Linked DNA regions of Homo sapiens: all the other regions are linked to region 1. Evidence: promoter capture Hi-C in 16 types of primary human blood cells and fetal thymus (Javierre and others, 2016). All regions are on one chromosome and are shown on one strand. The core of a region is centred on a gene start or on the middle of the fragment in contact, and the rest is flanking DNA. Distances in the headings are between cores, read along the strand shown.

The links. The method cuts DNA at HindIII sites, captures the fragments that hold promoters and counts their contacts. A CHiCAGO score of 5 or more calls a contact.
Region 2: the fragment with the promoter of GXYLT2 here is called in contact with the fragment with the promoter of GPR27 in region 1 in 7 of 17 cell types (naive B cells, total B cells, erythroblasts and 4 more); the score reaches 11.9 in naive B cells.
Region 3: a fragment that was not itself captured here is called in contact with the fragment with the promoter of GPR27 in region 1 in 1 of 17 cell types (naive B cells); the score reaches 5.0 in naive B cells.
Region 4: a contact is called between a fragment that was not itself captured here and the fragment with the promoter of GPR27 in region 1, in 6 of 17 cell types (naive B cells, monocytes, total B cells and 3 more). The highest score is 8.4, in naive B cells.
Region 5: a fragment that was not itself captured here is called in contact with the fragment with the promoter of GPR27 in region 1 in 1 of 17 cell types (naive B cells); the score reaches 6.2 in naive B cells.
Region 6: a contact is called between a fragment that was not itself captured here and the fragment with the promoter of GPR27 in region 1, in 1 of 17 cell types (total B cells). The highest score is 6.2, in total B cells.

The regions. Positions count from the first base shown.
Region 1 is chr3:71,752,285-71,755,566 of GRCh38, reverse strand. It overlaps GPR27 (G protein-coupled receptor 27), which reads right to left and starts at 1,712. Exons shown (of 1, transcript NM_018971.3): 1 at 1-1,712. The coding sequence starts at 1,517. The coding sequence ends at 390. It also overlaps a transcript of EIF4E3 not described here. The HindIII fragment of the contact is 6,251 bases long and covers 1-3,282 here.
Region 2 is chr3:72,886,525-72,889,806 of GRCh38, reverse strand. It overlaps GXYLT2 (glucoside xylosyltransferase 2), which reads right to left and starts at 1,761. Exons shown (of 7, transcript NM_001080393.2): 1 at 1,299-1,761. The coding sequence starts at 1,573. RefSeq lists silencers at 1,262-1,391, 1,492-1,721. The HindIII fragment of the contact is 7,571 bases long and covers 1-3,282 here.
Region 3 is chr3:72,844,357-72,847,638 of GRCh38, reverse strand. SHQ1 (SHQ1, H/ACA ribonucleoprotein assembly factor) reads left to right here. Exons shown (of 11, transcript NM_018130.3): 2 at 3,216-3,280. Among named protein-coding and RNA genes, the nearest start is that of SHQ1, 2.4 kb to the left of the region's middle. The HindIII fragment of the contact is 587 bases long and covers 1,227-1,813 here.
Region 4 is chr3:72,821,201-72,824,482 of GRCh38, reverse strand. SHQ1 (SHQ1, H/ACA ribonucleoprotein assembly factor) reads left to right here. Exons shown (of 11, transcript NM_018130.3): 6 at 1-59. Among named protein-coding and RNA genes, the nearest start is that of SHQ1, 26 kb to the left of the region's middle. RefSeq lists enhancers at 1,887-2,166, 2,187-2,236. The HindIII fragment of the contact is 1,649 bases long and covers 897-2,545 here.
Region 5 is chr3:72,801,531-72,804,812 of GRCh38, reverse strand. All of the region lies in intron 9 of SHQ1 (SHQ1, H/ACA ribonucleoprotein assembly factor), which reads left to right. Among named protein-coding and RNA genes, the nearest start is that of SHQ1, 45 kb to the left of the region's middle. The HindIII fragment of the contact is 311 bases long and covers 1,593-1,903 here.
Region 6 is chr3:72,781,564-72,784,845 of GRCh38, reverse strand. All of the region lies in intron 10 of SHQ1 (SHQ1, H/ACA ribonucleoprotein assembly factor), which reads left to right. Among named protein-coding and RNA genes, the nearest start is that of SHQ1, 65 kb to the left of the region's middle. The HindIII fragment of the contact is 865 bases long and covers 1,230-2,094 here.

The DNA of each region.
Region 1 (3,282 bases), core at 463-2,962:
GTTGTCAAAAATAGCTTCTGTAGAAAACTGGCCATGGTCTTTAGGAAACGTTGCATGAAGAAAATTAGTACAGCCTTTATAGAAAAAGAAAAAAAGGAACCACACATGGAATAAAAGACGTCAGTACCGCTACAAAAAGACTGCAGGGCCTATTGTCAGGAAGAAAGTCGAGTTAGGAGGACGAATGTGCGGAGCTGGAGTGGGCTGAGCATCCTACTCCTCACCCACCCCACCCCCAAAGGAGTCAGTACAATCCAAGTGTCTGTCCACTTCGAGTCATTTTGAAGGCAGCTTAGAAAATTAAACAGGGGCCAGAAGGAAAAGATACAACGTCACCGTCCGAGCCAAAGGGAAAGGCTGGGTTGGGGGTCTATGTGGCGGGGCCTCCCTCATAAACCAATGCCTTTCAGGTCGCAGGGATGGGTCGCCTGGGTGGTCCGGGGGCTCTGGCAGCAGGGGAACTGGGCCCTGAAGCAGTCCCTCAGCTCCCTGTTGAAGAGGAAGCACACGACGGGGTTGATGCCGGCCTGCGCGAAGGTCAGCCACACGGAGGCCGTCAGGTAGGCCTGGGGGACGGCGCCGGGCCGCACCAGGACCCGCAGGTAGCTGGCCACGACGTAGGGCCCCCAGAGGAGCAGGAAGAGCAGCGTGACGGCGTAGAACATCTTGCACAGCCTCTTCTCCGTCTTGAATTCTTCCAGCACGAGGAGGCGGCGCGCGCCGCGGCCCGGCCCTGCGGGCCGGATGCCCACAAGCGCGGGCGGCGTGGGCCCGCGGCCGAAGCCCGCCGTCCAGTTGGCGGCCGCCTGGCCGGTGGCGCCCGGGCCGTGGAAGGTCCAGTCGTGGCTGACGGCGGGCACCAGGCGCGCGGGCCGCATCTTGCGGCGGTCGTGGATGAAGAAGAGCAGGCGGAGGTAGACGAGGTGCGTGGCGCCCACCACCACGGCCAGCAGCAGCAGGAAGCCCAGCGCGCCGGGGGCGCCGTCGGGCCGCTGCTCCAGGGCGCACGGCGCGTCCTCGTCGTCGCCACCGCCGTCCAGCACTGGCGGGAAGGCCGCGGCCAGCGCCAGCGCCCAGGCGGCGCACACCAGCATGGCGGCGCACGGCCAGCCGGCCAGGCGCTCTGCATAGAAGCGGTGGTGCGCGATGGCCAGGTAGCGGGTGACGCCCACGCCCAGCAGCAGGAAGGCGGCGTGGAAGCAGAAGAGCGCGGCCAGGAAGGCGAGCAGCTTGCAGCCCAGCGCGCCCGGCGGCGCCCCCGCCGCGGCCGCCGCACGCCGCGCCGCCAGCATGACGGCCGGGAGGCAGGCGAGCGCGCGCAGCCCGTCGGCCAGGCACAGGTCGAGCAGCAGGTAGTACGGGGCGCGGTGCAGGCTGCGCTCCCGCACGATCAGCAGCGCGAACAGCACGTTGCCCGCTAGGCTCACGCACAGCAGCAGGCTGAGCGTGGCCAGCTTGAGGCCCAGGGCGGCCGCCTCGCCGCCGCCGCTGCCACCCGGCTCGCTCGCGTTCGCCATCGCGGCCTCACCAGGCCGTGCGCTCCGCCCCGGGGCCGTCCCCTGCCTCGCCGCTCCCGCAGGCCGCCCGGCCCGAGCTCCGCCGCTCCGCCGGCCCTGGGCGAGCTCCCCGTCCTGCGGGGCTCAGCCCGCTCCCGGCCGGCCCCTCCTGGGCTCCCCGAGCCGCCGCTGTGCCGCCGCCGCCATCTCAGGAATGGTGCGCGCAGGAGGAGGCGGCCACTCCCTGCGCCCTAGGCGCCGCGGGCTTCACTGCGGACAGGGCCTCGCCACCGTCCGCAGCCCCCCGCATCCTCCTCCGTCTCCTCCTACTCCTCCGCTGCTGCCGCCGCGCCTCTTGGCTCTGCCCCCCGCCGGGCCCGCCGCCGCCGCTGCCGCCGCTGCCGCCGCCGCCGCCGCCGCCGCGGAGCCCCCTCCCCTCCGCCGGAGCGCGCAGCGCGGCCGCCGCCGCCAGCCCCGCCGAGGCATCCCGCACCGCCTGGGCCCGGCTGGGCTGGGGGCGCCTCCGCAGCAGCCGCGGGGTCGGGAGGCGGCCGGGAGGGAGGCAGGGCCCAGGACGCAAGGTGGCGACAAGTCGCGTTTGGCCCCAGGTAACGGGGGTCCGGCGGCGGCGCCCGCGCTGGGGTCACGGTGGCCGTGCGCGGGGGAGGTTGCCTGGGCTGGCAGGGTCGGGAGGCCTCAGAGGGGACAGGAATATCTGGAATGAGCCTTCTGCCCGAAAGCTGGGAGTAATTTACGATAGTAATAGTCATCGTAATCCTAAAACCGCTGATACTCAGGTGCGCACTGATGTGGGTGGCAGTGTGCTGGGGAGCTTGGCAAGCATTATCTCCCTCAACAGTAATCACGAAGTTGTTGCCATCCTTAATCCCACTTTATACCTCAGGAAGCAGAGGCTTGGAGGTCAAGGGAGTTGAGAGCCGGGAAGTAGCGGAGCTGGGATTCAAATTTCGCTTGGTCTGATTTCCAGTGCTGGACTCACAGCGACTCCGCAGCATCCCCTGCTCGCTAACTCATCCGTGATCCCGGTGAAGGACCTATATCAGGGAAAAGAAATGCAGCATTTCATCTTTAAGTGACTTGGAAGGTGAACCCTATGCCACCTTCCTCCCAGGATATCTATTTTCTGGGTAAGCCTGAAAGGGCAGCCCCTGTTATGATTCTCAGACACACCGCATTTGTCTCGCAGGACCTTGCATGTGCTGGTACCTCTGCCTGGACCAGCCCCACAACAGGCTCCCTCTCCGTAGGGCCTCCTTCTAACCCGTCTGTTTTACTCTGTATCCCTGCCCTCTAGTCATTTCCTTCTTAGCACTTATAATTTGTCATTATATACTTTCATTTCTTTTTAAAAATCATGCTCTTCTAACTAGGCTCTAAGCTCTTTGAAGGCAAGGGATCATGCCTGGTTTTTGGTACCACTGCATCCCCAGTGCTTAGCATGGTAAAGCCAGAATTAAGCAACGCATTGTTTCTCACCCACACTCATTTGTTTTTTCTTCTGTGCAGAAAATTATTTGTTGCCTACTGATTACATGCAAGGCAGGCACCTTGATGGGCATTTTCAGGATAGTGCAAGATCATAGAGGGCCTTAATGATCAGGCTAAGAAGTCGAAACTTTAGTCTGCAGGCAGTCAGGAGCCCTTGAAATCTTTTGAGAAGGGGAGCGACATGACTAGGTGTGCTCCAGGAACATTATTCTGGCAGCAGTGTTGAGGAGGGATGACAGAGCAGAGCCGGTAAACCTAGTCCAGAGCCTCAAACTTC
Region 2 (3,282 bases), core at 512-3,011, 1.1 Mb before region 1:
TGCGGTTAGCACTGTCCCTGGCAATAGGTTAGCGATGTTAAGGATGACAGTTATTATTATCTTACCAGTTGTCCCATCAAACTTAGCAATCATATTAAACTTGCAGTTAAACCCTAATTAATCTCTTACAAGAAACTCCAGTATAGAAGAGGGGAAATCCTATTAATTTCCTAACAAAGATATCCTTAAAGACTGTATACATCCAGAAAGGGCTGTAAAGTGTTATAAGTACTTTAAAGCGACAGATTGTTGGGGTTTTTTCCCCCTAAAACTTGTCAGTACCCATTTGTACTGAGACAGAAGGGAAACAAAGGCTGACACAGCTACTTCTTGAGGTTTCGTGTCTTTTAGTTACAGTAAAGGCACCAAAGAGATTTAGTCATTATGGTCAAAAATAATTTTTCAACTCCTTTCAGGTTGAAATTAAGGAGCCCAGCAAACAAGGACGTTGCAATGGCAGTTAGAAACAACAGTTTTGAAAGGGCAGATGAAACAGACTCGCTACAAGACAAGGGGATTGTTGAAAAGCCCTCCACAACAAAGGAAATGAACTCAAATCCCTAACCTGCGGGGCGTTCCAGCAACCCTGAGGCCAAAAATAAAGCTCTCTGATGAAAAGCCTCCGCGTGTTAGGCTTTGTGTAGGGAAAGAGAGTATCAAACAGAAGGTCGAAGGTTAAGTTGTTTTTCTTGTAGGAGGACCCTTTGACCACACTCGAGCCTGAAACAGAATGAGGATCTGGAAACCCCCACTCTGTCTTTTCTGTGCCACGCATCAGTCCTTTCAAGGAGAAAACTTCTTTTTAATAAACTTAGGTCAAGTGTCCCTTCTGTTCTAAGCATGGGGGTACTCGAGGTTAAATGAGAGGCTGCCAGTCCTTGGTAAACATCTAACTTTTCCAACTCAACCATATCTAAGGTTTCGGTAAAATTCTCCAGTGAAACATGAGAATTAGATAAAACATTCTTGCACCGTGATGGCTTTTGACAAATTAAACAAAGGGTGCATGTTTGCAAGAGTGCAAAAATACGCCTTGCCTTGACAGTTAAAAAATGTAATGTACGAAACCACTTTCCTTGACACTTCAAAAAATGTACGTGATTATCAACACCGAGCTGTTAGGGGGACTCCACCAAGGTGGGTCTTCTTTTCTATCGGGTTAAGAAACAGAAGTGGGCAGCCCGTGGGTGAAACTTGGAAATCTGTCTCTCCAGCGCAAAGCCTCCCTTGGACTTGGCACGGGTGTAGGGAGCGAGACACGGGTCCGCAGATGGGATTCTGGGGTTGCCACGACTCACCTCGCCAACTTCTCCAGTCTCGCAGCGCCCCGGCGGCCCGCTCGGGGGCGCGGACGCGGGGGCCGGCGCCTCCGAACTCCCGGGCTGGCCCCGGGGAGGGCGCCCGGCCCCGGCCAGCGCGCGGGGACAGGCGCGGGGTGGCGCTGCGGGGCGGACGCGGGGCGCGCGGGCAGCGCTGGGGGCTCAGCGCGGCCAGCGCGCAGGGACAGCAGCGCCAGCAGCAGCGCGGCCAGCGCGAGCAAGAGCAGCGCCGCCGCCTTGCTGCGGAGCTTCATGGTGCGGCGCGGCGGCGGCGGCGGCCCCCAGGCGGCTCGGCCCCTCTGCGCATCGCGGCGGCGGCAGGATGAGTGCAGCAGCGCGCGGCGGTCGCCTCCTCCGCCCGCCCGCCGGGGACTGGGGTCGTGGCGGCCGGCGGGCGGCCGGCGGCGGCGGCGACGGCGAAGGAGGAGGAGAGAGAGGAGAGGAGGGGGAGGCGGTGAGAGCTGGGTTACAGGAGGAGCAGCCTGCGCCTACCGTACTGTGTGGAGTAGCCGCCCCTCCGCCCGCCCGCAGCCAGGCTCTCGGGCTTCTGGTAGCTCAGACTCAAAACCACTTCATTCATTCATTCGTTCGTTCGTTCGTTTACTTCCCCATTCACTCACACACCCATGCCATCCACTGTTCCCGCTGATTCTCTCATACCATGATTCACTTATTTGTTGATGTATTCCATGTGCTTCCTCCTTATTTATTTTATCCATCTATCCACACATTTGTGCACTTATCCACACATCCTTTCAGGCAGGAACATCTCTGTCCTGTTTGCCCAGTGCAGGGATCTGCGGGTGGTGGTGCCCAATAAATATCTGTTGAATAAACCCCTATTGCCGCCTCTGTCTTGCCACCTCCCTTTTTCCTGGAGGAGGACATATTCAACAAGGACACATGCAAAATAAGGCAAAGCGAGTAAAAGTAACACGTGATTAGTAGTTGGGGTTTCAGACTCAAAACACCAAAGTAGAACTTGGGACAGCTAGACTGGACCGAACCGATCCATGTAGTCTGAAGAAATTAGAGAATGAATTTCAAAGTTTGGATTTGAAATCTGACACTGTGCTTAACTGGCTTGGTGATCCTGAGGAAGCTGCACAACTTTCTTAAGCCTTAACTTCCTTACGTGCAAAATGGGAATGACAATACTGCTCACTACAGAGGCGTTTTGTGAGCATTAAATTAAATAATGCCTTCAAAGAAACTAGCACAGTGCCTGGCTCACAGTCGGTGCCCAATAAAAGTTCTGTAATGATTAGTTCAATAAAACATAGCTTATAATATACACATAAACACACATTTTATTTTCTTTCTGGCACAGATTTGAGATAGAGTAATAATTTCACAACACAATGTAAGAATGGCTTCTTTGGAGACTTTAACAGCTGCAATCGCCAGATGAAGGTCGTAATTTCCAGACGATTCTTCCAGGGGATCCCCAGTTACAAATCTGAAACATTAGGACACATCCTCTTATGACTCACGGTGAACTGACAGCCAGGACTCCATTAACTCTCTTTTCAGCACACCACAGAACAAAGAACACTAGTTAAGTTATAACAACGTCCCTGAGTTTTTCAGTTTTTTTTTTTTTTTTTTTTTTGGATCACTCTGTAGCCCAGGCAGGAGTGCAATGGTGCAATCTTAACTCACCGCAGCCTCCGCCTCCCGGGTTCAAGCCATTCTCCTGCCTCAGCCTCCCAAGTAGCTGGGATTACAGGCTGCGCCACCACACCCGGCTGATTTTTGTATATTTAGTAGAGACGGGGTTTCACCACGTTGGCCAGGCTGGTCTTGAACACCTGACCTCAAGTGATCCGCCCGTCTCGTTCTTCCAAAGTGCTGGGATTACAGGCATGAGCCACCGCGCCCAGCCCGTCCCTGAGTTTCTACAAGATTCCATGTTGCTTTATAAATAATCTAAAATTTAGTTATATTCTGAATTATTCTCATA
Region 3 (3,282 bases), core at 271-2,770, 1.1 Mb before region 1:
TTTTGTCCCTGAAGTGTGGTTGTTTCCCCCAAGTCTCCGTGAGGGTCTGTCAGCACTTGATCTGTTTAAATTATTCTCCTTGCAGAATCGTAACCTTGGTAGCAGCTAACACTGATAACTCGTAGTGTGGTGGACAAGCAGTTCCGTTAAGTGCTTTATGATGGTGTATCTCATTTAACTTTGACGGTGATCCTTAGGGATAAGCACTGCTATTAACCCCATTCCACAGAACCCGCTGCTACATATTCATCCTAAAGTATTGCCAATCTCTTGTCCTTCTCTTTATCCATCCTCCTAATCTTTCTGAAGTGTAGCTGCATCCTACTTTTCCCACCCAAGTACTTTTGTGGTACAAACCTTCTCCACCAGTCAAGGTGGTTTTTTCACTGTTGCTGAACCAGTTTTGCTCAGATTTCCCTTAGACCATATAACGTCCGTATTTGAATTATTGCACTTTCCAGTTTTTTAATTCACTTATTTCTTTAATTTATTTATTGAGTTTCAGTGTTGGTATTATTGTGCTGAACAAGACAAAGTCCTGCCCTCATGTACTTTTCACTGGGGAGAGGAAAACAATAAACAGTGTACTTAATTGTGGTGAGTGCTATGAGGAGAAAGAAGTGCACTAATAGAGAATGAAAAAGGGCCCATGTTTTATAAAGTGGTCAGGAAAAGCCTTTCTGGGGAGGCGATATTTAAGCCAAGATGTGAAGAATAGGAAGAAGATTATGGTGGTAGCAAATATTTATTGAATTTTTACTCCAGGTTAGTGCTTTATACGGATTATCTCATTTGTTATTAGGACAGTGTTACAACGAGGCTTTATTATTTACCCGTTGCCGTGGATGGATTATTTGTGGGCACCCCCCCAACTCTTGTCCCCAAATTCATATGTTAAAGGTCTAATTCCTGTGTCACTTCTGCTTTATTGTATTCATCAAAACAGTCCCAGAGCCTGCTGAATTTTAAGGGGAGGGAACATAGACCTTCATGGTTGGGAAGAGTGCTGTGAGATGGGCATTCTTTGATAATACAGTTTGCCCCCAGATGTGGTGGCTCACTCCTGTAATCCCAGCACTTTGGGATGCCGAGGTGGGCAGATCACTTGAGGTCAGGAGTTTGAGACCGGCCTGACCAACATGGTTAAACCCCATCTGTACTAAAAATACAAAAAAATTATCTGGGCTTGATGGCACGCGCTTGTAGTCCTAGCTACTTGGGAAGCTTGAGGTGAGAGAATCGCTTGAACCTGGGGGGCGAAGGTTGCAGTGAGCCAAGATTGCGCTATCGCACTCCAGCCTGAGTAACAGAGCGAGACTGTCTAAAAAAAAAAAAAAAAAGAACATACAGTTTGCTATACCAAGGATGAATAAAACCTGGTCCCTCTCCTTGAAGAATGGAGACTGTAGCTGCGGAGGCCCCATGTAAGCAAATATAATTTTCTCTGCAGTAAGAATTTAACTCTAGGCTTATAGAGTTTAGGGGAAGGGAGCTGGTAATAATAGCTCACATTTTCTGAATGCTCACCTGTTGTGCCGGCCACTAAGCTCTTTGCATTATCATTTCATGCTCATAGTAACGCTTGGATAGTTACTGTTATTTCCCCCCTTTACAGAAGAGGGATTTATGATTCTTGAAGAATAATTAACTTGTACAAAGAAGGTTGTTACACATCTGGTAAATGGCAGATCTAGGAGTTAATTCAGATTCTGACACTAAAGTTAGCGTTTGTAACCATTATAACAAACTCATCCATAAACTGACCCCTTATTCTGGCTTAGAGGGATTTTCATTCTGAAAATGTATTGAAGCTTGAGGAAACCTTGGGATTAAAGGTCCTGGGCCTTTTGGGACTGTCAGCTGTTTTTGTTTTTAATCATATTTAGTAGGAAACAAGGGGGAGGGCCATGGGAAGAAAGGAAGCTCAAATTTCAAGTTTGGAATGATATGGAGTGGGCCTGATATGCCCTTCTGATAAGTTTAAATTATCTAGGCAACATGAGGCAGCCATAGACACTTTTTAAAATAGAAAAGTGACAATTAGATTCCTGTTTTAGAAAAATTATTTTGGAGCCTCAGTGGAAGACTGATTGAACTAGGGTAAAACTGGAAGCAGGGAAATCACTTCATTTCTTTTTTCTTTTTTTTTTTTTGGACACAGAATCTCACTCTGTTGCCCAGGCTGGAGTGCAGTGGCAAATGATCTCGGCTCACTGCAACCTCCCCTTCCTGGGTTCAAGTGATTCTTCTGCCTCAGCCTCCTGACTGGCTGGGGTTACAGGTGTGCACCACTATGCCTGGCTAATTTTGTATTTTTAGTAGATATAGGGTTTCTCCATTTTGGCCATGTTGGTCTTGAACTCCTGACCTAAGGTGATCGACCCACCTCGGCCTCCCAAAGTGCTAGGATTACAGGCGTAAGCCACCACGCCCAGCCAATCACTTCATTTCTTTTAGTACAAAAGAGGGGTAAATCCCTACATAATAATGATGAGATTTGACACTTTTGCTTTCTGCTTTTTTTTTAAAGTAGTAATTTGCCTGATAAAATCAATTGGTTTTGTGTTTCTTTATTGTTTCCCATTGAGTATCCCTTATCTGTACAGATTGAGTGTCCCTTATATGAAATTTCAGATTTTCTAGAGTTTTGGAATATTTTTGCATACATAATGAGATATCTTGAGGATGGAACTCAAGTTTAAACACAAAATTTATTTGTTTTATATACACCTTATACATATAGCCAGAAGATAGTTTTATGTAATTTTTTAATACTTTTGTGTATGCAGCCAAGTTTTGACTGCTTTTTGACTGTGACTCATCACATGAGGTCAAGTGTGGAGTTTTCCACTTTGTGGTGTCATGTTGGTGCTCAAAAAGTTTCAGATTTTGGAGCATTTCAGATTTTCAGATTAGGGATACTCAACTTGTGTTATAACAATAGTGATAACTACTATTTATTATGGCTTTTCTTTTTCAGTATCTATTTTGTTGGTGACTAGGGGTATTCAAATAGAAAGATGAGTCATCTCTAATTTCTACTTTCTTGGTTGGGGAAAGAATCTAACTTAGTTTATTAAAATGTGAAAGAAATACTGAGGAACTTCTTAAAAAATGATTGATATATTTTGATGGTTAAATGTTTGCAAGTATTGATGGCCACTTATGTTACGTTATAATTTAAGGACTTCATGAGACCTGTGTTAAATCTGCAGATTAACCCTTCCTGGAAGAATTGTAGAAAATGGAAGTGAGCAAGGGTCCTATGATGCAGATAAAGGT
Region 4 (3,282 bases), core at 472-2,971, 1.1 Mb before region 1:
TTCAAAAATGATGGCCTTTTTGGAAAAGAGTCAGGAACAAGAAAATCATGCTACATTAGGTAAGAAACTCAAATTCGGCTAATTTGTTTCATTTTAAAATCTCATGGTGTACCACGTTTACTGCCTTCCATATTATTAAGCGTATAGTTGTAATTGCCTTATAATGTTAAAATATGAGTTTGAATTGCTAATTTTGGAAATGACTTCTTTGCCCCTGACTGGAAAATGCCGCTAAATAATTAGGCTTATTTGTGTTGGAAAATTCTTTTGAAGTATGGTTTCCTTTAGAATCATTGGAGTTCTTTTATAATTAATTATTTTTTAAAACCTAAATTTAGGGATATTATCACACAGGACATTTGTAGTTTCTCAATAACCTGCTTAAGAGGTATGAACATTCTTCTTTGGTAAGGACATTTGAGTATTAGTAACGGGCGGGGGGAAGACCCAAGTGGGAAAAGACCTAGATGGACATGTTATTACCAGCTTCTCTAAGTGCAGTGTAGCATTGATATATTAAGACTATACATTAGAAATATAACATTTGCAGACAGATCAAGAAGAGAACACCCATGTTTTCTGTCACACTGATTTGGCTTTTATTTACATATTAAAAATAAAATTTCAATGTTTAAATGGAAAGAATACATATATATGTACATTCTGAAGAGTATTAAATGGAATATAGACTCTTCCCACCCCAAGTTCTTCTTCCCGGAAGTAATCACTATTAGCAATTTTGGGGATATTTTAAAAATATATATTCCCACATCTAAACAGTCGCTTTAAGAAATGTCTACACATAGACTCACGTATACCCGGTTTGTACCTTGTTTTCAATTTGTAGTGTGTGTTGCACATCTTCCATATTAGTATGTAGAGATCTACCTGAAGCTTTTCATGATTACATAGTATCCGGTTGGATATTTTTTTCATGATTGATGGATATTTGGGCTGTTTACTACTGGTGGACATTTGGGTGACTTCCTGTTTTCTGCAGTTGCAAATAGTATATATAGTGGCCTTCTTTGACCACTCATTCTGAAGTAGCTACAGGGTCTCTAATGCATCACAGTTTTTTATTTTCTGCATATCAATGCAATAGCCTGTTATCTGCTATTTTTTCAGTGTCTAGTATAGTGCCTGTTATATAAAGGTACTCAGTAAATATCTATAAATATTGTAATAAATGTTTTTATGGTTAAGTTTTATTAAAGTTTAGGTGAGTTCTACCAGATCAAAAAATTGCTACTATAATATTTTAGAAAATAGAGGATTAGCTTTATTGCATAACAGAAGCTCATTATAGTGACTCTTTTTTTTTTTTTTTTTTTGAGACGGAGTCTTGCTCTGTCGCCCAGGCTGGAGTGCAGTGGCACAATGTCGGCTTACTGCAAGCTCTGCCTCCCGGTTTCACGCCATTCTCCTACCTCAGCCTCCCAAGTAGCTGGGACTACAGGCACCGGCCACCGCGCCTGGCTAATTTTTTGTGTTTTTACTAGAGACGGGGTTTCACCCTGTTAGCCAGGATGGTCTCGATCTCCTGACCTTGTGATCCGCCAGCCTCGGCCTCCCAAAGTGCTGGGATTACAGGTGTGAGCTCCCGCGCCCGGCCTATAGTGACTCTTTGTTATAGATTTATTGTCGTTTTCAACAAATCCTGACTTTTATATTTGAGTTTAAGCAGCTTTCAGAGACTTCTCACATTATGTATATATAGACAAATTTTCAGGTTTAGGATTGCTAACAGAATATAGATAGTTAATTGTACATGCTAGGTAGATCTGATCATGAAGTTTGAACAAACTTAAATCATCAAGTGTGTCAACTGGTTTGAGTCAGTTTCCCTAATTTTAGCACGGTATTTTAATGAGGTGGTGTGGGAGAAAATTGATGGTTGCGTAGTTGAGTTTTCTGTCCACCAGGGTGAGCTAGTTGCCCTAAAAATCAAGAGAAGGCGTTCCCTTTGATTTAAATTCTAACTTGCTCTACTTTGATAAACTGTAGCTTGTTCTCAGTCCAGTTTTCTGTGTCAGCAATGCTCTTAGTCTTCTTTGTGTAATTTTAGCAGGAGATCAAGCCACTCAGTCCTTTTAACCACCTGCCCTCCTGACCCTTCATCTGACCCATGACTGATAGCCAGGCTGGTGCATCAGGAACAGTCATAGTCTGCAAAGCCATTATGGTGATTCATTCTAAAAACCACCTTTAAAAATAGCAAGGACATGTGATCTAAGGTAGACGAACTTGAGCTTTGTGTCGAACAGCGTGTCTCTTCTAATAATACCAAATGTAAGATATAAACTAAATGTAGGCTTGGGGTTGGACTTCTTGTTCCACCACATGCCTGCGATATGATCTTGCACCTTTGGGTTGCTGTGGAATGCTGTACCTACCTCAGAGTTGTCCTGAGATTGAATGAAACGATGTATTTAAAATCCTGTAAATGTTAGAAATTATTATTGTAGAGTAAAATCAGTCACAGGAGAGCCAGGAGTTGGATGGTTTCTCTGTGAAATTACAATTTTTATACATTTAGAAAGCTTTAAGGGAAAGTTCCTTGTTAACAAGATTTCTCTCTCATTTGAAAAATCCTGGTTCAAATATTTGGGGCACTCAGAATTGGAGGAATAAATTGAAGTGTGTTGAGCCAGGATAAAATATGGGGGAAAAGAAATAAACCAAGAAATAAACATCACAGTTTTCTGCTGAACTATGGTGCATGCTGCTGTACCTTTTCTCCTCTTCCTCTTTGTTCTTTGCCTCTCTGGCCTTCTTCCTCTTTGTGTCATAGCGTGGGCTGTTGTCTGTTTAACACCTCCTCATCAGGTGTCGCCAGGCAGATACAACAGTGCAGGTGAGGGGTGTACCTTTGATTCATTCTGTATCATAAAATATTAACCTAGATTGCTTTGAATTCCAGATAAGCCTTAGGTGGTGAACTTTGCTCCCTCTTTTTCTCCCTTGGTTGTAATTCTTGTCGTTTTCATCACAGCCCTGAGTTACAACAGGGAGACTTTTCTCCAGCTTTGTAGTGATCCAGATTTTCCTCCCCAAAGGCTTGTAAATGGAAGTGTTAAACGCCGTGCTTCCCCTGAGCTCTGGTTTCATGAGGATGAACTCACCGCATTTCCCATGTTGTCTTTCAGTGGTTAATCTGAAGCTCCAGAGTCTTGGCACGTTATTGCTTGTTATGACACCACGTAACATTTATAGTCAATGAACTTCCTAGCAGGGACATCCTGTTTGGCACCAGTGAGCCCTTCAGTGTTTGTAGAGATA
Region 5 (3,282 bases), core at 499-2,998, 1.0 Mb before region 1:
CATAATCATGGCTCATTGCAACTTCAAACTCTTGGGCTCAAGCTATCCTCCTGCCTCAGCCTCCCAAAGTGCTGGTTGACAGGTGTGAGCCACCATATCCCAACTTAAAGTTTCTTTAAGTAAGAAGTTAATGTTGGAAAATAACAAGTGGCAGATATTTATTTATTCAGCAGACATGAATCAAATCTATTCTCCGTGCAAGGGAGTATAACAGAATTGGTGAAGAGTTACAAGGATATTTATGACTTGGTCTTAGCTCTTAGGGAGTTTATTGTGTAATAGGAATGATAGGTCAAAAGATAAGGTACAAAATGTAAGTATTTATGATGAGAACACATGGACACGGGCAACAACACCCATTGGGGCCTTTCGGAGGGTGGCGGGGTGGGGGGGTGGTGCCGGAGGAGGGAGAGGATCAGGAAGAACAGCTAGTGGATACTGGGCTTAATACCTGGGTGATGGGATGATCTGTGCAGTAAACCACCATGACACACATACCTCTGAACTTAAAAGTTCAAAACAAAAACAAAATATAAGTGTTTATAATATAAGATACAAAGGGGAGACTCCCTTAAAAACATACCTTAATGGACAGGTATGGTGGCTCATGCCTGTAAACTCAGCACTTTGGGAGGTAAAAGTGGGAAGATCTCTTGAAGCCAGGAGTTTGAGACCAGCCTGGGCAACATAGTGAGACCTTGTTTCTAGAAAAAAAAAATGTTTTTTAAATTAGCAGGGCGTAGTTGTGTGTGCCTATAGTCCTAACTACTTGGGATCCCGAGGCAGGAGGATTGCTTGAGCCCAGGAGTTCGAGGTTACAGTGAGCTATGATCATGCCACTGCGCTGCAGCTTGGGTGACAGGGTAAGACCTTGTCTCTAACAAGAAAAGAAAAAAGAAATTACCTTAATGGCCATCCACAGGCCAAATCCATCTTGTATTGCCCTTGAGCTAACAATGCTTTTTACATTTTTAAATCGTTGAAAAAAAATAATATTTTGTTACTTGGGAAAATTATTTGAAATTCTCATTTTAGAGTCCATAAATAAAGTTTTATTGAAACACAGGCTCATTCACTTACATATTGTCTATGGCTGCTTTTGCGGTAAGATGACAGAATTGAGTAAGTGCATCAGAGATTGTCCTGCAAAGCCAAAATATTTACTTTCTATCTCTTTACAGAGAAAATTTACCACCTCTGCCTTAGGTATGTACATGGAGGTTGGAGGGGAGCCCTTTTGTAGGGAGCCGAGGTCTTTGGCTGCTTGCCATTCCAAATAGTGGCCAGCATTGAAGTAGATCATTTCAGCTATTTTCTCTCGCCTTCCCACAAGGTGAGACTTAGCTGATATAGTTGGCTCACATTAGAGTAGGCTTCTGTACATTAGGAGAAGCAAACTGAGATGCCTACTTCGCCAAGCAGGTAAATGAATAAGGATGCTAGGGTTTAAGGAAATAGAGACTAATGAGGCCTGTGTGAACTGAAGAGATACATGGCTCGACTGTAGCCTACTGTTGCTGTGTGAATATATAGTATTGCCAGTTTTAAAAAGAAGTAGAAAGTAAAATGATCTTTAAAATTTTTTTAAAGCTTAAGTATGAACAAAGAAGTAAAGTAATGTAAAATCACACTGTAAGAGCCATAGCATGTCTGAGAGCCCAGGTCAGCCTGGGAGGCCCCCAGTTTTCAGTCTCTGCTCTAAAGCAAGCTAAGTGCCAGCGTGTCTTTCTCATACCCTCTTGGACCTGCCAGTTTTAGCTGCAGTGAAGGCTTGCACCAGGTCTTTGCTCCTTCAGTCCTAGCTTGAGACTGAGTCTCAACCTGATACAGGTTCTAAGATTGGGGCAGGCAAAGGAGGTAAGAGATGTCCCGCATTGTCTAATGTAGTTAATACCAGAAAGCTTTTTTAAAAAAGTGGATCCCCTGCCTCTCTTTTGACTACTTTGTATTGTTACTCTTGTCAGCCAGAGCCTGGTCAGGGTGGAGGAGATGAGTGATAGGATTTCAGTACCTCCAGTACCACACCTCACTCTGACCCTGATAGAGTGCTTGTTAGTAGTGGGAGGAGGGATTAATAGGGAAGGAGCAAACAGCATAGACCTAATGAGTGATATATAATGGTAGTTACTAAAGAATGTGTAGGATTTAGAAAAGAAGATGTGGAGGAGCGGTATTCCCTGAGAAAGTAGAAGGCAAAAAAATCAGAAAAAGGAATATAAAAGAGTTCCATGTCCAAGAAAGGGCAAATTCCCATCTGTCTGGAGGCCAGAGGTGTGAAGGGGAATGGTAGGATAAAGGTAGAAACAGTGTGCTGGGACCGGGCTGAAAGGAGCCTGCAATGGCTTGCTGATGAGTTTGGGTCTTATTCAGGGAGGAACCACTGAAGAGTTTGGCATTGGAGCCGGTGAGAGGCTTATGAAATTAGATTCATCTGGCAGCAGCACTTAGGATAGAGTCATTGAGAAGGGTGAGGTTAGTGGGCATGGAGAAGAGAGGAGACCTATTCTTGCCTAGACCCAAGGAAGTCTGGGGACAGACAGTATGGTCTGAACTAGAGTGCTAGCCACGGCACCGAGGAGGAAGGAATATGTGGGCAGGTGCTTCACAGGTAGTGGGGCAGGGACCAGTAATGGGAGTGCCAGGGCTGATCCATACTACCCGTTGTCCTCCTTCCCTTTTCATATGTAAAGTACTTACATGTTTGTTGTCTCATTTAATTTCCATAGCAATTCTTAAGAATTTTTCTTCCAATTTATCCCTGTGGAAACAGATTCAGATTAAGTACCGAACGGTTAAGAAGTGGTACCAGAAGCAAAGCAAACTCTGGGCTGCACAGCTGGTCCACAGTGGAACTGTTGGGATTGTTACCATTTTTACTTCGTGAGAAATTAGCTAAGAACTGCATAAGATTATTTATGTGTAGCTTTTTAATGATCTTTCCTTGGCTTTTTAGAATTGGGGAACACAGTTCTAAGATCTTAATTTCATAGTCAAAATTTTCATGCATCCTTTTCATATAAATTAAACTTATATGTAGAGATAAATATCTAATCAGCTTTACTAAATTATATTTATTATCCATTGATTAAAATATAAAGAAGCATAGCTCAGTTCTACCAGTGTGCAGACCATTTAGCAGAAAGCAAACATATTCACTGAAACACAGTGAGGGTTTCAAAATGGTTTGGTTTTTCTCCTTTTTTACCTTGACATACTTATCAGTACTTGAGATCACCAAAATAAATTCATCAGTGGTAGGATTAGGTTTAGGTTTGTTTTTTC
Region 6 (3,282 bases), core at 413-2,912, 1.0 Mb before region 1:
CCCAAGTCACTGATGTTTATAATAAATCTACAGAGTGGAAGGTGATTTTGGGGATCTGTTAAATTCAGGCACGCAGAGCGATAATCAGACACTCTAGGTGGTTTTACATTGGTATGGGAAGTTACTTCTGACAAATGGTGAAATGCTAAGTGTTAAATTAGCTGCTAATGATTAGCATGTAGAAGTTTCAAGAAACAATTGTGCGTAATTTCAAGCAAGTTAAACCTTGGATTAAAATCATTCTTGGTAAGGTGCTTATTCTGGCATGTCAAGTTGCTCTTTAGTTTTACTGTTTATTTTTAATTAAATCCACAAATTCATCCTGGATGGAAGTGGGTTTTTATCTCCATAAGAAAAGATTAGTACAAGGCAGTATCCATTCACTTGGATCCATTCAGCGTGGTTTCATATAGAAAGGATTTACTTAATGGTTCTGTACCTTATCACCAGTAGCTCAGCAGTGCCCACTGGGGACTGTTGCTCTTCATTAGACTTCTCTTACAAGAAATGTGCCAATAAATCACAGGATTACAAATGTTCCTACAGATCTAAGACTAAAATAACCTTTTATAAAGATATGAATGCTTCCTGTAACTAAGTGTATTGAAAAAACTAACAAAAGAATTATATATTTGAATGTTAAAGGTTTATGGGATATTTTTGTTGTTCTTTTTTTTTTTAATTTGTAATTTGTATCTTTTTTTTTTTTAGGTAGACTTTTTATTTTAGAATAGTTTTAGATTTGCAGAAAAATTGCAGAGATAGTACAGAGTTCCCATGTACCCTACCCAGGTTTCTCTGTTAACCTCTTATATTGGAATGATATATTTGTCACAATTAATGAACGAATATTGATGTTATTATTAACTAAAGTTTATTTAGATTTTCTTAGTTTTTACCTAATGTCCTTTTTCTCTTCTATGAGACCACATTTTGTTTTGCTTTTACTAAAGAACTGGAAATTGAGTAGTGCTCAATTTCTTGGACATTTTGGTTATTCAAGAGCTTAAATGCTATGAAAGGTAAGTGAAATATTGTTGAGATACTCAGATACCTGAGGAGCTTAATACATACAAACATTCTAATCATCATGAATCCAGACTTGGAAAAAATGGGTTTGACGTATTTGAGAATTTTTAGAAATAGAAACATAATTCATTTATCATTTTTACTTACATATGTACCATGGACATCATGATTATGATACATTGATAAAAATAGAGAAAGCTTAGGGCTGGGCATGCTGGCTCATGCCTATAATCCCATCACTTTGGGAGGCTGAAGTGGGAGGATCAGTTGAGGACAGGAGTTCGAGACCAGCTTGGGCACCATAATGAGACCGTGTCTCAACAAAGCAAAACTGGGCATGATGGCATGTGCTTGAACCCAGGAGTTCAAGGCTGTAGTGAGCCAAGATCATGCCACAGCACTCCAGCCTGAGTGACAGAGGGAGACCCCATCTCAAAAAAAAAAAAAAAAAAAGTGTATAAAAATAAATTGGGCAAGGCCTTTATAGTTTCATGTTAATTTTCTTAAGGTGGAGGAGGTTAGAGGAGAAGATGTGGAGATACATATGAACCATTTTCAGAGGTGAATAAGCGTGGAAAATACTCTACCTTTATCTAGGGAGTAGTATGTATATCAAGCCCATTTTATAGCTGTGGCTGGGTGGCTGTGTTAGAAGTCTCTGTTCTTTCTTGTTTTAGTCCCTGATACTTGGCTGTAGACTGCCCAAGTCCTTGGTTTTGGCTTGGTGGAGCCATGGCTTTTTACAGAGTAAGCAAATTGCTATTTTCCTTCATCTCCTTGTTCTTGTGTATTTTTGTACCTCAAAGCTCTTTGGAGGATTCTCTTTGGAGGGAGACCCACAGGATCAAGTGAGTTAGGGTGGTGATTGATTTAGTCAGGTTTTATAAACCAGTATTCTCTACTTCACGTAGAATTTTCACTGTGCTTGAATAGTCTTAACATCTTATTCAGAGAAAAGGCTTACATTGATTAATGTGGCATATGTGTGGTTATCATACTTAGAAAGTGCTCTGTTTAAGGAGAGCTTTGTCAAGAGCATTCTTTCAATGGAGTCACGAGAAAGCTTTTTAAAAAAGCTGACAACTTCAAGTACAATTTCCTTTTTCTTCTGTCTATTATGATTGAAACCCAATCTTTGTTATAACATAATTATCTCAGCTGAAGCCAACAGGGAGTTGCTGCCTTAATGTAAGGGGTGTGAAGTCCCCTAAATAAATAGAGGATTAATTACATTCCCAGCATGTTGCAAAGGTGATGAGATTGATTGTGATCATTTGACTTGTCCCATTTCCTGCTCTGACTACTTTCTTTAATAAATAGAAGCTGGGAAAATAATAAACAGAGCTGTGGAACATATCTTTGGGCATGGAGTGTTGGAAAAGGACCTTCTTGAGGTATATTTCTGGATTTTAAGTGATTTATATGACATTTTACAGTTTTTTTCATTGATTATTCTTGTACTGTTTCAATTTAAACAGCTTTCAAGGAAATTGTTTTTGCTTAAGAAAACATAGATATTAGCAGAGCATTGAGAGAAATTGATAAATTCTATTTTAATGGTTGGATATAAGCAAATTTCTGATCCAATTTTAGATGTTTTCATTTAGTGTGGCATTATGGAAGGTTTAAACTAAAGGAAATATTAGCTATTACATGTTTCTATTGTCCTTTTCACATAAGAGCTTTATACTTCTGTTAAGCTTAAAGTGATAAATTAGGACTTTCATGAAGTGGATCATGTTTTCTGTTTTGTGCTTGTCTTACTGTCTTTTCCTGGAGAGTTTTATAATATCCTGAAATTGTGATTTAGAGTATTTATTTATTCTCTAAATTTTCTATTGCTGTGGCTTCCTATGGAGGTCCACTTTTTCCAGGGAGTACATAAAACAATCTTTTTGGGGTATAGGAAAACTGTAATAGACCTTCTACCTATAATTATTTTTTGAGAATGAAATTAAGCTTCATAAATATTTTATACAGGGATTGATGGCAAAAATGATTTTTAGTGGCTACTTACCATACCTTTTTTTTTAGTGATGTGATATTTGATTAGAAGCTTAAAAGGCCACTGCTTCATGGAACAGCCATTCCTATTTTCAAAGAGAGTCATACACCTTTTTTCTCAAAGCCTAAGTTATGGCAGGGCTGGGATTGCCTCTGCCAGGAAATTAGTGTTGGGGTTCGGGGACTCTAGTCAGTCTCTGCCAATTAAAGACTCCTGATGATATGGTCTCTTCTTTCTGCTCTGTAATT